Regions from separate parts of the Homo sapiens genome. Here all the other regions are linked to region 3. Evidence: promoter capture Hi-C in 16 types of primary human blood cells and fetal thymus (Javierre and others, 2016). All regions are on one chromosome and are shown on one strand. The core of a region is centred on a gene start or on the middle of the fragment in contact, and the rest is flanking DNA. Distances in the headings are between cores, read along the strand shown. Region 1 holds the start of PJA1 (praja ring finger ubiquitin ligase 1). Region 2 overlaps HMGN5 (high mobility group nucleosome binding domain 5). Region 3 holds the start of RLIM (ring finger protein, LIM domain interacting).

Evidence for each region. The method cuts DNA at HindIII sites, captures the fragments that hold promoters and counts their contacts. A CHiCAGO score of 5 or more calls a contact.
Region 1: the fragment with the promoter of PJA1 here is called in contact with the fragment with the promoter of RLIM in region 3 in 1 of 17 cell types (total B cells); the score reaches 6.3 in total B cells.
Region 2: a contact is called between a fragment that was not itself captured here and the fragment with the promoter of RLIM in region 3, in 1 of 17 cell types (fetal thymus). The highest score is 6.7, in fetal thymus.

Annotation. Positions count from the first base shown.
Region 1 is chrX:69,163,099-69,168,203 of GRCh38, forward strand. PJA1 (praja ring finger ubiquitin ligase 1) reads right to left here and starts at 2,355. Exons shown (of 2, transcript NM_001032396.4): 1 at 2,274-2,355; 2 at 1-42. The HindIII fragment of the contact is 4,972 bases long and covers 1-2,759 here.
Region 2 is chrX:81,122,728-81,127,599 of GRCh38, forward strand. All of the region lies in intron 1 of HMGN5 (high mobility group nucleosome binding domain 5), which reads right to left. Among named protein-coding and RNA genes, the nearest start is that of HMGN5, 77 kb to the right of the region's middle. The HindIII fragment of the contact is 486 bases long and covers 1,306-1,791 here.
Region 3 is chrX:74,611,323-74,616,248 of GRCh38, forward strand. It overlaps RLIM (ring finger protein, LIM domain interacting), which reads right to left and starts at 3,302. Exons shown (of 4, transcript NM_016120.4): 1 at 3,100-3,302. RefSeq lists an enhancer at 2,907-3,226. The HindIII fragment of the contact is 9,843 bases long and covers 1,539-4,926 here.

The DNA.
Region 1 (5,105 bases), core at 1,105-3,604, 5.4 Mb before region 3:
TGGCTGGCAATCCTTTCCCGCTGGCTCGTGGGTGGCCTGAAACTGACATAAGCATGCCTTCTTCCATACCTCCTACCTGTATTGGACTGATACCCTCCTGTTGGATTGGGCCATACAGGCTTGCTAGATTCCTGACCCATCACTCTGACTTAGGAGGGTTTCCAATACAGCTGGGGCTCGGGTAGGAGGGCTCCTGCTCCCTGCACACGTTTTTGAGATGGGAAAGTAAAATCAGTTTAGAATAAAGGAGCAGGGAGATTTATTTTCACTTCAGCAGGCAGGTAACAGAAAGAATAAGGGGCCTTTAAAATTAGTTTCACTTTCTTCTAAGGCCTGGAGTAGCATTCCAGTGACTGTCAGGTGTAGACCTGGAACACATTTTTAATGTTGGCAAAATGATTACAAGACTGGGTTTGCAGGAAAGCCAGACTTAGAGGAGAATCTGACGGAAGGTTGGGGGGTGACTGGACGCTTGGAAGGTGGGTGAAGTACTGTGGAATTGTGCAACGTGGGGAAAGGAAAGACTGCTATAGTTTTTTTTATGGGGTGTCTGCATTTTTCTGAGTGCTGCAGACATACAGGAGAAATGCAAATTGGAATAGAGTGGAAAATACAGATCGCCGTGTGTGCACGAGTGCCTATGTGTCTGTCTATCAAGAGGAGAGGGACAGGTGGAAGGGGACCAGTAATCCTGCAACAGAGGGATGTTTACGTTTGTAGGGGGAAAGGGTATGAGTGTTAGAATGAGACCCATTCTGGATGTGGGTATGAAAATGACAGGCATGGGTGGGGTGGCTTTGGAGGAGAGGGGTGCGTGTATGTATGAGGAAAGGGAAGGTGTTTGTGTGTGTAGCTGTATGTGAGGCAGCTGAAACTACAGAAGGATGCCCATGTTTATGCGTATGTCACAGGCAGAGGAGTGTATGGTTGGCAATGGAGAGGAGTGTCTGAGAGTTTGTGTGTGTGTATGTTAGTCAAAATGGGAGGCAACAATGGAGAAATGTCAGTGTGAGCAAATGCAGCAGGCACAAATGGAAGCGGGGGTGGGGGGTGCGCAGCACTGGAGAGGGATGTGCTTGAGGTGGATGGAACAGAGGCAGGCAATCAAAGAATGATGCCTGCCTGTGTGGATATGGCAAGCAGGGAGGCAGGTTGTGTCCCCGTAGAAGGATTTATGTGAGTGCGAGTGTGTGCACCTCAGGGACCAGCAAAAGAGAGCTGTGTCTGACACACGTGGCAGACAGAGCAATAGAGGAGAGCATTTGAGAAGGGGGTATGAATGAGCACATGTGGCTACATATGTATGTCACTGGCCAGCGATAGAAGGATGTCCTTATGTGTGTATATGACAGGAAGGAAGAAGGAGGGCAGCCGGAGGGGGTGTGTGAATAGGCATGTGTTCGCGAGAGCACGCAGAGGCCGAGCAGGGAGGGGGCCGGTGCTAGAGGTGTGTATGTGGTAGGCGGATAGAGGAGGGGGAAGGCATGGGAGGGTGTGAGGGTGTGAGGGTGTGTGAGAGGGTGTGTGCTGCGTGTGCCTGCGCATGCGCGGGGGAGGGGAAGCACTGGAACCTTGAGGATGGAGGGGCAAGGAGGGGGCTGCAATGGAAGGCTTCTGTGCGGGGGCGCGTGCTCGCGACACACGGGGGGTGGGGGGTAGGGGGGACGCAATGTCATAAAAAGAGGTGGGAAAAGGCCATCAGCTCAAACGGGAGACCCCAACCGATGTGGCAGGGGAGAGGGAAAATGAAAGAAAAGGGCGTGCGTGGGTCTAGTTTTCCCTGAGAATAATTATTTTTTCCTTCCAATTTTTTCCCTGGGAACAGTATTTTTACCTAAAAATCTTAACCATTTACCATTTGGCAAAACAACAGCAAAATATGGGAAGAAAGGCCACGGAGTGCTCCGCAAAGGGGCCGAGGAGGGAAGAAGGAAGGAGAGGGGAGGAGAGGCAGGGAGAAGTGGGAGAGGGCCGCGACCACCACTGCCCTCCCAATAGCGATGAAAGCCACTCGAGTGGGGACCGCGCCACACCAAAGGGGTTCCGGCAGCGGAAGATGTGGCCCCAGAACAGGCCGATGGAGGACATGGGCCTCACTCTGCAGTCAGGTCCCGCGTCCGCCCCACCCCTTCCCGAGGGGCGAACCTGAAAAGCAGTTCCCAGGAACCCCCCAAAATCCTCGCCCCCGTGCCCGGCCACTCGCCCCGCGCCCGGCCACTCGCGCCACCGCCAGCGCCCGGATGAATCGAGGAAACAATCAGCCTTTCACTCACCAAGTCCAGAAAGCCACACGCTTTTCAGAGAAGCAGAGCTCTCGGATCTCCGACCGCCACGACCGCCAGAGCCGCTGCTCCCGGTCCCGAGCTCCTCCCCCGCCAGACAGCAGCGGGGCGGGCGGCGACTGCGGCGGCGGAAGTGATTGTGAAGTCAGCTGGAGCCCGCCTCCTTGATGTGGCGGGGGCGGCAGCTGCTCTCCACAAATCAGGGTGGGCCCGAAAGCATTATTTCATCTTAAATGATGAAATCGTCAAGGATACAGAAAAGGACAGCGAAAAATGTCACAAACACCCAGCTTTAACTAATGTTAAACATTTAGCTATATTGCCTTCTGGTTTTTTAATAAATAAAATAAAATCTGCAAATTCTTTCTGATTAAGTCCAATGTGAGAGTAATTACGTTACTACATCACATCCTATGTTACGTGTTATGGTTGTACCGAAAGTATTAAAACTGTGAAACCATATTTAGGGTTGCAGTAAGCTTAAATTTTTTTTAACCTGATGGTTAAAGCAAATTGAAGCTGTTTATGTTGAATTTGTTGCTGCTAATCACAAAACCAAGCTTCTCTGTCCAAGAGATCATAGGACACAACACAGGTTCATATTCTGTTATTGCATTGCAGTTAAAAATATTGTAGTTACGCCTTTTGGATTTATACCATTTTACTGAATTCTGAAGTCTTTAAATTGCGCTTTATAATGGAACTCTAGTATTTACAGCCAATGTAAACATTTCCCATGTTCACAACAGTAGCAAAGTTTTGTTCTTACTGGAAACAAAATGCATAATAGAACAAAAATCTTAGGGGTAACAACATAATAGAAATAAAATGTATAACTTTCAAACCATTAAAGTAATAATATGTGGAACAAAGAGAAAAACTCATTCTTAACAAAGGTCAAGAAATGTTGCTGGGGGGGTACAAAAAAAAGGATGCAAAAAGAAAACAAAAATGCAGGAATCCAAATATATCAGCATGCATTATGGGTTAACATCTCCTAATAAAAACCAAACTCTTATTTTGAGCATTTTGTTTTTAAAAGCTAAGTTATATTCTATTTATGTGAGTTTCACCTAAAGCAGAAATAGGAATAAAAAATATATGAGAGTAAAATACTAGCAGAAAAAAGGGAGAGAGGGAATGAGGGAAGGAAAGAAGCAAAAAAAAAAAAAAGGAAGGAAAGGAAGGAGGAAACAAACTCGTAACAATATCAATATCCTAAACATCGAGAACTCAAAGTAAAAAGAACTAAAGAGAACAAAACAGGTTGCTTTATTCACTGAGAAAGATATGACAAGCTGGTGGTGTGTGCCTGTAGTCCCAACTACTTAGGAGGCTGAAGCAGGAGGATTGTGTGAGCCCAGGAGGTTGAGGCTGAAGTGAGTGAAGATCACGCCACTGCACTCCAGCCTGGACAACCAAGCAAGATGCCATCTCAAAATGATGATGATAATAATAACAATAATAGAACTTCATTGGTGAGAAATCTGAAACTATCAAATTTTTTAATGGAGATACATTTTCATCTAGCAATTCTACTTCTAGTCAATTGCTCTATTGTGTGTTCTATTGAGACACACAAATGGAGAAAGATATGTGAATAGGAGTGTAGCAAGATAATGCAAACAACTTTAATTCTCCTCAACAAATAAATTGTTTAAATTTATTTAAACATGTTGCATGGTGGCTCATGTACAGACATGGTGGTTGACACCTGTAATCGCAGCACTTTGGGAGACCAAGGCAGGAGGATTGCTTGAGCCCAGGAGTTGAGACCAGCCTGGACAATATGGTGAAACCCCATCTCTACAAAAAAAACGTAAAAATTTCCCTGGCGCAATGGTACGTGCCTGTAGTCCCAGCTACTTGGGAGGCTGAGGTGGGAGAATCACTTGAGCCCAGGAGGTTGAGGCTGCAGTGAGCCAAGATTGCGCCACTGTGATCCAGCCTGGGCAATAGTCAGACCCTGTCTCAAAAAAAAAAAAAAAAAAAAGAAAGAAAGAAAGAAGGCAAGTATATATGTATATATGTACTGGTCTAATATAAATATATTAAGTGAAAAAAGCATGTTGCAGAACAGTGCATTTTAAAAAAAAACATATGATAGTCACAAAAATTTATGTGCCAAACAATGTAGTTTCAAAATATATAAAGCAAATACTGTTAGAAATATAAAGAGAGATCAGGAAGTCTGCAATTATAGTGGGAAACTTCACCTCATTTCTTATGGTATAGATAAATCAAATAGACTGCAAAATAAATAACGATATGAGGAAATGGGACAGTACAATATACCGAATGTATATGTATTTTTGTTTTTTTGAGACAGAGTCTTGCTCTGTCATCCAGGCTGGAGTACAGTGGTAAAATCTTGGCTCACTGCAACCTCCACCTCCCGAGTTCAAGCAATCTCCTGCCTCAGCCTCCTGAGTTGCTGGGACTGCAGGTGTGCACCACCACACCCAGCTAGTTTTTGTATTTTTTAGTGGAAATGGGGTTTCACCATGTTGACCAGGCTGGTCTCGAATTCCTGATCTCAAGCAATCCACCTGCATCGGTATCCCAAAGTGCTGGAGTTACAAGCGTGAGCCACTGTGCCCAGCTTGTATATGTATTTTTGGACTCAAGAGAGGATACATTTTCTTTATAAAAATATTTTTAAATATGTCAACTATACAGAAAAGTAGAGTATAAAATACACATTTTAATGCACCTGTCACATGGATTGAGCAAATTTTATTTTCTCCAGATCCTCAGATCCTTCTGTTTTTGAAACAAAATAGTACAGATGAAGCCCTCACTTCATCCTATTCACTTGACCTC
Region 2 (4,872 bases), core at 299-2,798, 6.5 Mb after region 3:
TAGCGTCACTCTAGTCCCAGCCATATTTAGGTGACTTTCGACTGTAAGAGAGGCTTATAGGTGCCTTTCAGTGTCAGTTTCTGAGACCTAAAGTTTTCAGGGTTGAGGTGGAGATTGATGAATAAATTACTTGGGAATAAATATGATTAAAATAGAGGATCTAATTCCCCACCGCCCTTTCTCAGAGGCGCCTTGATGTGGTTGTTGTAAGAGCTACCTGTGTATAAAAGTGCTCCCAAACAACAACCCAAATCCTTATCCTGGAGGGTTAATCAAAAAAGAAATTTAACCTTTTGAACAGTTACTTTAGGAAGAATTCATTTGTGTTTATGTAGGTTAAAAAATTTGGAATAATCAGTTTAAGAGATAAACACTGTATCTGCTACAGAGTGCCAAACCATCCCTTCAAGCAAAAATACAGCCTAACAGAATAACCCATTGTAATTATTATATTTACTATTGCTATATTATTTTTATTTTGTTATATATTTATATCATTATTATTATTATTATTGCCCATTCTTCCCCAGCACTGATAGTATGGAATTACATAGATCAGGTAGAATGAGCCTGCGTGACTGCTGCTCAGTTTCCTTCCCCCAACTTCATACTGCATTCTAATTCAAGTAAGTAAATCAGAAAGATATTTAAATTGCTTCCTTCGTCCACAGTTATTGGGATAATCCCTAGATGTTCCTGATGTCACTTTTTGCCCTTATGGTAAAAGCATTCCTGGGTGAACTTAAATATGTTTCAATCATTTTATTCTCCAACAGTTAGAAGATAAGCATAAAAATTGATTTTAATATAAGGATTGCCTCATAAGGATAAGAAGAAAAATGAAGGGAATGAAAATGTGTCAGCAGTGGAATGCATCCATTCAACAAATTCTTATTTAGCATTATTTTGTGAGTCGGATTTTGTTTTTGTAGACTAGCTTATGAAAATGCGAAACCCTGTAGCATGCAAAGTTGCATTACACAGCTTCTGTCTTTAAGGAATTTTATAATTTTGTAGGATTGAGCAAACAGATGCATACCTATTTACAAATCAAAGCTGATTGTATTATCTGAATGGTGCAATCTAAATTCAATAATAAAACAGGAGGGAAGGATCTTTTAGGACTAAGGTAACTTGGCAAAGGGTTTGATTGAGGAAGTGGAATTTGGCTTGCCTGTGAACAGTTCGGTAGACTGTTACATTACAGCAAATGCAGCGGCAGGAAAAGGTTGTACTTGTTCAGGGAACATAGTGCCTAGTCCAAGTGGATTGAAACAAATTATCTTGAGGAGCCTTGGAAGGTAAAGCTTAGAGAAGCAAAGCATAATGTGCAGGTCAGTGAGCTCTAAAACTCCTCTTAAATTTGTCAGCAATTTTCTTTTTTGGCCAGTTTTTTCTTCTTGAAGGCTAACGTGTTGCAACTGTGATTTATATCTTATTAAATTGAAAAAATAGTCATGCATGCAAAAGAACATTTTCTAAGTGTGAAACATTCTTCTGTTTCTTGACCCCAATCCCCCATTTCCTCATGTTCTTCCTTCTAACCATTAACCAGAGCGGTCCTTTACATTAGCAAACCTGTTTAGGCTCTTTGCCTTTGCAGTATTATTACCTCTGACTGCAGCCCCATTCTCAAATATCTTCACCTATCAAATGTTTACCAAACTGTTTAGACCCAATCCAAATATCACCTCTTTGACAAAAGCCTTCTTCAATTATTTTAGCCCTAAGAAATTCTTCCCTGCTGTTATACTATACAATTTAGATTGTACTACTCATAGGACACAAGCAAGCTTGATTTTTCCTTTTTTTCCCAACCACTCCATCAAACTTCTTCAAATTGGGTCAAACTTGTATATACTTATTTCCTTTTGCCTAAATATTTACTCAGCACATCACACTCTACATACCTTCTGTAGAATTTACTACTTTTCCAATATATTTTTCTAAAATTGATAAATTATTCCAGAGTAAAAAGGTTATTTTTGTGTAATTGTCAAAGTGAGACTTTTTACTGGACTATTTTTTTCTAAGATTACGTTGGCTTGTTTCTCTTTTTAATTTATTAATGACTAGGAAAATTGATTGCCTGACAATTCTCCACAGAATTCCCTAATTTTACCTGGCTATTAAGCATGCCTACTACCACTCCCAAAATTTACAGGAACTGTAACGTGTCCATTTAGTAACCAGTTAAAAATGACACAGGAAGATATGAAAATTTATGGATTAAAGGCACCAACATTAAGATATATTGACAGAGAATCCAAAAGAAAATATTATGTATTTATGAGAAAAGGAATGCTAAACAGCCAAGATAAAACAGGTCTTCAAATGTTCTGTATATTCATAGTTTAAAATTATATATATATATGATTAATTAAAAGCATTCTAGATACACTACTTTGCATGCAATGGGATCTCAAAAATACTGATTGACTAGTAAGAAATACTTTATTTTCTCTGTTAAAATATCTCTAATTTTGACCTCATGCAACACCATTATTATTCCTGTTGTATTTTAATAAAATAAAAAATTGGAAAACTATATACTATTGTCAGCAAATAATGCAAGAATTCTATCATATTATTAGAATACAGTGTTTTAGATTTTTTTTGTTGGTATTTTCAGAGGGTAAAATAAATCCAAGTCTACAGTGAGCCAAATACATCAATACACTTATTTCTGAGCCTTGTTTAAGATTGATATCAGAAATTTATTTGAATTGATGATGCCACTTAGCTGAGACTGACTCTGGAAAAACTGTAATTCTGGTGACCCAAATCTTCCTATGTCCTATGTTTATTTGCAGCAGGCCAAAGACTAATAAAATACTGAATTAAAGAGTAGCCACTGATATGACAGATAGATTATTTTTCCAGTGGTAAAAGTAAATTGAGCTGCTTTCTAGGGGTAAAAGGAATATAATACATTTTATGTTTCTATTTGTAAAATTTCTACCGACTTTTAAAGTAACAATTTAAAAGAATGCTATTTTTAGGCTTTCAGACATTCAAGTTTAGCAGATACTAATAGAGATTTTCTAGTTTCAATACCCTTGGAATACAGATGAATAAACACAAGCCCAGAGAGCTTAAATGACTTGCGAAAGATCATCTATTAAAATTTAAGCAGTTGGCTGGGTGTGGTGGCTCGCGTCTGTAATCCCAGCTCTTTGGGACGCTGAGGCGGGTGGATCACCTGAGGTGAAGAGTTCGAGATCAACATGGCCAACATGGTGAAACCCCATCTCTACCAAAAATACAAAAATTAGCGGGGTGTGGTGGTGGATGCCTGTAATCTCAGCTACTTGGGAGGCTGCGGCAGGAGAATCGCTTGAACCTGGGAGGCAGAGGTTGCAATGAGCCGAGATCATGCCACTGCACTCCAGCCTGGGTGACAGAGCAAGACGCAGTCTCAAAAAAAAAAAAAAAAAAAAAAAATCAGGCAGTTTTTTTCACTTTTTTACTAAAAATTTTATCTACGGTTGTGATATCAGCAATTACACAGTTTATACAGAAATGTTAATGACTAAATGACACATTTGGTAAACACGAATTATGTTCCATCTCAATGACCTTAAAACTCAAGATGAAACTCTGGCTGTCAACCTACTTCAGATATATCTTTTTACTGATTCATTGGATCCTCACTCATCTATGATCTTAAACTTGTATTCTCTAGTCAGTTTTCTATACCTCAAGAAAGTAGAAAATTCAGAAGAGAAAAACTACTTTTTACCTTATTCCTTTATTTGTTTTTTGGTCTAAAGTAAGTCTGGTGAATGTGAGTTTTTAATCTTGAACGTCCAAATGCTTGCCCATGTTTTCTTCTTTCCCTTGCCAGCAAAGAGGTTTTCAGATAAAAATTGCGGATGAGATTCATTATTGGTTAAATGTTATTTGAAGATTTCTAACATCCAGTAGGTGTCATCATTTACTTGAAAAGAGTTTCAAACTTTCTTACTTTATAAGATTTCAGCTTCCCTTAAATTTATTTATATACATAGTTATTGTTTAAAATTAAAAGATTAATTGTATATATTAAGATGTACAACATGATGTTTTGATATACATATAATGAAATGATTACTACGGTCAAGCAAGTCAACATATTCAACAACAAAAAAATTATTGTTTTGTGGTAAGAGCACCTAATATCTACTCTCTTAGAAAATTTCTAGGGTATTTACTAAATCCTATCTATTGAACTTAATTTATACTTTTGGTATAGTTGATATCTATGTTTTTTTGCATGAAATAGACTTTTAAAATCTTAATATGATAGGAACGTTTAACCTTCATCCTCAACTTATAGAAGCACAGATATTAATTCATAGCTTTTAAAATATGGAAATGTAGATTGTGACACTTCTAAAGTTTTGCGGCTATTGTGGCACATTGAAAAAATGACATCTTTAGTTTAAAGCAATTATATTTTCACTTTGTTTATTTTAATTGGCCTTAATGTTCAGGCTTTTTCTCCTTAGAAAGTTCACTAATGCTGGTTACTCTTACAAAAAGAAATGAAACAAGAATTCAAGAACTGATAAATGCCCCAGGCTGCCTATATGAGACAAGAGCCTATTTTCAAGAATAGATCAGTTTTCGGTGTAGTCCAACTGTTCACTAGTGAGGGTTGATTAGAAATAATCACCCTTCATGAGAGAATAGTGGTGACCTGTCAAATAGGTTGTGTGTTAGAAACCAACATCTTTATTAAGAAAAATATTCAATTTAGTAAACTGATGGCATTTTAACCAAAAGCTAAAGTTAAATGCGATTTTTTAGATGTCTGTAACAATTGATTTTCTTCAGTTTGTGTTATGCTAGGATTTTTTTTTTCCTTTTCCTGTTTTGGGCTTTATCCAT
Region 3 (4,926 bases), core at 2,052-4,551:
TCCATAAATGCAGATGCCTCATTTGACCTACTACTATATTAAGGCTCACTACATGTTCACTAACCTCAAAGATATCCAACCAGCCTAGTATTTCCAGATCATTTAATTATTAAGCTATTTCTTAAAATCATTTCTGATTTTAAATTAAGTTTATCAAATGATATACAAGGAGCTATCCATTTAACATCTATCAATGAGCCCATCCAATTACAGGGCCTGTGAAATAGAACAATAAATATGTGTAAACATGCATAATAGCTGAAACAGGAACGTAACAGACGAAAAGGGGGGATTGCTGGATAACCTTTAAGTATTAACAAAAGTTTCTGATGCAACATAACCTACAGACTTTTTACTACAACCTTTCATTTTCATTGCATTTCCTATCTAATTAGACAGCAATCAAACCCAGAAGTATAACGTCAGACAGGCCTGGGATAAAATGAGGGCTCCACCACTTAAAGCTATTTAACTGAGGACAAATTATACTTAACCTCTTTGGGTTTTTGGTTTCCTCTATAAAAGTTAACATTCTCATGAGGCTCTGTTGTGAGAATTATAAAATAATGCATATAAAGCACATGGCCTAGCACCACAGGCCTTCAGCAGAAGTTGGTTATGAATTTAGGCTAAGTATCCATCCCAGTTTGTCGGGGACAATCAAGGTTTGCACCTGCTGTCCAGGAATTATTAATGTTCCTTTTGTTCTTAAAAGTGTCTTGGTTAGGCAATAAATTATGTGGTTACCCTAATGATGATGATAATAATAATGAAAGGAGTCAATATCAATTAAAAGTATCATGTATCAATTATGAATTTTTGAATCTTAAAGGAAAAAAATCAACCACCACACACAAAGTAACGTAAAATTATACTCTCGTAAGCTATTCTGATATTTCATTTAGTTATCCAATGAACATTTAAATGTTATTTTACTTATACTCATGCCATTCCAACAATGATATAAGACAACAAATTTTTTGTTGTTGTTGTTCTATACAGGTATTGGTAAACTTCAGACATTATTTTAAAGAGTCAAATTCACAGATAAAGCACTGGTGAGTTCCAGGTATCCAGAAACATTACCCTTTTAATTCCCAGTGAAAAGTACCCATTCTTATCATGAAGAATACCCAACACCATCTAACATCTATCAATGAGCCCATCCAATTACAGGGCCTGCAAAATAGAACAATAAATATTTGTAAACATGCATTCTACACATAAATCATCAGGAGACGCAACAAAAAATAAATTACCTGACTGTTATGACATAGTATTGAAATACAATAAACTGGATTTTAGTTTTCTTCACTCTGCTCTAGAAAAAAAAAGAATCCATTATTCTTCCTCTTTAAAAAGATACACATTTTCTTTGAATTAGACACAACCTAAAAAAAAAAATACAGACACACCATAACCCAACCTAATTCAATATTAGTATTAGGGCATTTGGGGAGAGCAAGAAGGTCAGAGGGGACCAGGAGTTAGATAAAAGATGTCTTCTAAGACTGAGAGACAATTTACGTTTTATTATAAGCTTGCTTAAAATAAGCCTTTCCTTATCAGACCAGTAATTATTTTCAGATTCTGATAGTCACTTTCAAGGACTTATCTGGCACATTACACTAGCCTAAGGTAGGAACTAAAGTATTAAAATTCATCAGAACATCATGGACTAAAAAAATCTTTGTAACATTTTTCAGTAAGTGGAGTGTGTCCTAAAATCAAGTTTTAAAAAGTGGATTGGTCTTTCTAGCTACCTAAGCTATATTTCTACAGTTTAGAAAAGTCATGGGGGGGGAGGGGTTATAATTGTGCCAGTCCTCCAGGGAAGATACAATGTACTTAATGGGGTGATAAGTAGTTACTCTGTCTATAATCACGAAGAATGAAAGAAATGATTAGTAGCAGTAGGTTTATTATTTCTTCCCCCTTTCAATCAGTCCAAAACACTGCGGTTAATTCTGATTCAGGAAATGCGGGCTCCTTACTTCTGGCAAAAAATCATTGTGGGGTCTTGCAAATGGAAGATGACAATCTGATACAACTGCTTCCTCTTGCCCCAAAATGAAAAAAAAAATGACCTCAATAACAAGACTGCTAGGCCTCAGATTCCCAGACTAACCTGTGGAATAAGTATGGTGAAACTGTCTAGGGAAGGAACGTGGCTGTCTCCTCCATCTTGAAATTAATCAGCATAAGGGAAAAAGGGACCGAGTATTCAGGAAGCAGAAGCCCAACCGGTTAATACTAGTTACTAAGCTATGGCATGCGTGGCAGGTACCGTCTGCAGAAGCAGAGACCCCCCTAGGCTTTTTTTTTTTTTTTTAATGGGGGAGGGATTGAGTTGTTGGTGGATTAAACACAAATTAACTTGAAAATTTGGCCCAATTCCATCCCTTATCCAGGAGAACACAACAAACACCTAACGGCTTTTCCCTCTCTTTTGCGGGGGGATCCTTCCAGTGATACCTGGCAAAGGATATGCCAGGGTTATTCGAGCAAGGGAGTAAACCACATTTGCCTCAGATCCTCAGGGAAGATGTCATCGCGGCCCCAGGGGGCGCCTAATTGGTAATACCCTGCAGAAGGGCTCAAAATGAGGTTTTGGAAATCTAAAGGCCCAAGAGTTGCCAGCATCTCACTTGGGGCAGCCTGATTTTTTACTTCCCTTTTCCCAAACCCAAGCCCGCCATGGAAAACGCGGGGAGGTCAGGGAAGCCTCCAGAGAACAGAGAAGAAAAAGCCTGAGACGTTCTAAGATTCTGACGCCTGAGGCCAAAACTCAAAAACTGCCTCCCCCGATTTCCTAAGGCTCCGGAGGGCCTGGGCTGCAGCTCGCGCGGCCACCGAGAGGAAGTACTACCCACCTCCTTCCCCTTCAAAGAGCCTGTCGACTATACCACTCAACTAAAATGGCAGCGGCGACTACGCCACGGAGCCCCCCGCAGCAACGGGCCTGGGGTCCGGAGGCGGCGCTGAGCCTCTGCCACGACGCGTCACTCGGGCCATTTTGAGAGAACGCGGCAGCCGCGGCTCCGCTGTCTTCCTCTCGCTCTACATCATTTCTCACAGGATTCCCAAGTCTTCACTTACTAGGTTTTAGGGTCAGGATCCGACTCGGTTGGTTCGGCCGCCGCCGCCGAGGCTGCTCCGCACCTCCCTGGCCGCCGCTCTCAAGCCCGCCTCCAATGAGTAGCTGGTTGAGACCCGCCTCTAGCCCAGCGCCTGCTCGGAGACGTTGCTCAGGCAGCCATTATCTTCCCCATTGTTACCAAGCAGCGACAGGAAACGACTGCCCACAACAGGAAGTGATGATGCCGCGTCCCGGCACCGCAGCCCCACTCCCAGCCTATTAGCCAATCCCAGTCGATTCCTCGAAAAGGCTCCGCGGGAGGAGGAGGGGGACGGCAGACGACGCGGCAAGGCGGGCGGCGGTTTGGAAAAGGAAAGCTGTTATGACGCCCACCATGTGACAGGCCCCACCCTCCTCCGCCATTTTGAATTGTGGCGAGAAATTTGCGTTCTGAGAATTGTGGGAACCTTCGCTTTCCCATTTTGAAAACTGAAGGACGTCACGGTCTGACTGCTTGAAGACATTTTCAGAGAGAGAGAAATGTGATATTAGTCTACCCTGACATCACATCAGTTCACACAATCCGTGCAGACCAGTTCAAAAAGTAGCCTGCGTTTTATTCAACATGTATTTACACAGTGCCAACTGCATGTCAAGCACCATTGTAGCTGCTTAGGAAATTAAAATAGACCAAAATTAAGAAAGAAAACAGGCCACGTTCGGTGGCTCACGCCTGTAATCCCAGCACTTTGGGAAGCCGAAGCGGGCGGATCACCTGAGGTCAGGAGTTCGAGACCAGCCTGGCCAACATGGTGAAACCCAGTCTCTACTAAAAATACGAAAATTAGCCGGGCGTGGTGGCGGGCGCCTGTAATCTCTGCTAATCGGGAGGCTGAGGCAGGAGAATAGCTGAACCCAGGAGGCGAAGATTGCAGTGAGCCGGGATCTCGCCACTGCACTCTAGCCTGGGTGACAGAGCAAGGCTGTGTCTCAAAAAAAAAAAAAAAAAAAAAAAGAAAACAGATCAAAATCCCAGTTCTCTTGAGTCTTTATAGGGGCCAGGGACAATAATTTAGAAAAAATCAAACATAAATACATATCATGTTAGTGATAAATGCCAAGGAGAAAAATCAAGGAAGGGGGACAGAAGAGTTCCTTGTAGGGACAAACGGATTCGTGATGTTTAAAAGACTGATAACTTTGAGGCATTAACTCTAAAGTATTCGAAAAAGGGCGGTGATTGTAAAAGGGTGGGAAAATCTGATAACGTTGGGATTTGTAAAAGGGCAGTTAAAGAAGGCCTTTCTTAGGTAGTAATGCCTGAAAGAATTGAGGGAACTCGCCACACAGCATGCCACTCCCATTGTCACAGTTAAAGGAAAACCTTACCCAAGTTTTTAGATTCTTTTCCTTTTCCCAATTTTTCTGTTTTCCAATAGCATGCCAGCTATGCTGGCTTTGTTACGGTTTTTCCAACAAAGCTAACTTCTTCCTACTTCAACTACTTTACCTTTGCTGGAATATTTTACTTTCATATCTTTGCTTTCATCATCCAAGCCTCGCAATTATTAACTTCCTAGAGAAGCCTTCCCTGACCACCCTACCTAAAATAACTTCTTCCTGAAGGCGGAAAAAGGTCTGAGGAAAAAAAAAAAAAGAAAAAAGTAATAACGACTTCTCCCATCTCCTTACCTGCTTACTTTTCTTGTAAAACACTTAATCTGAAAGTAAGTTATTTATTTGTTTGTTTACTTCACCCTTTCTGAGCAGTAAACCTCTCTGTTTTGTTCACTGTTGTGTCCCCAGCGACCACATAGTAAGCCCTCAAAATACTTTGGGAGAATTAC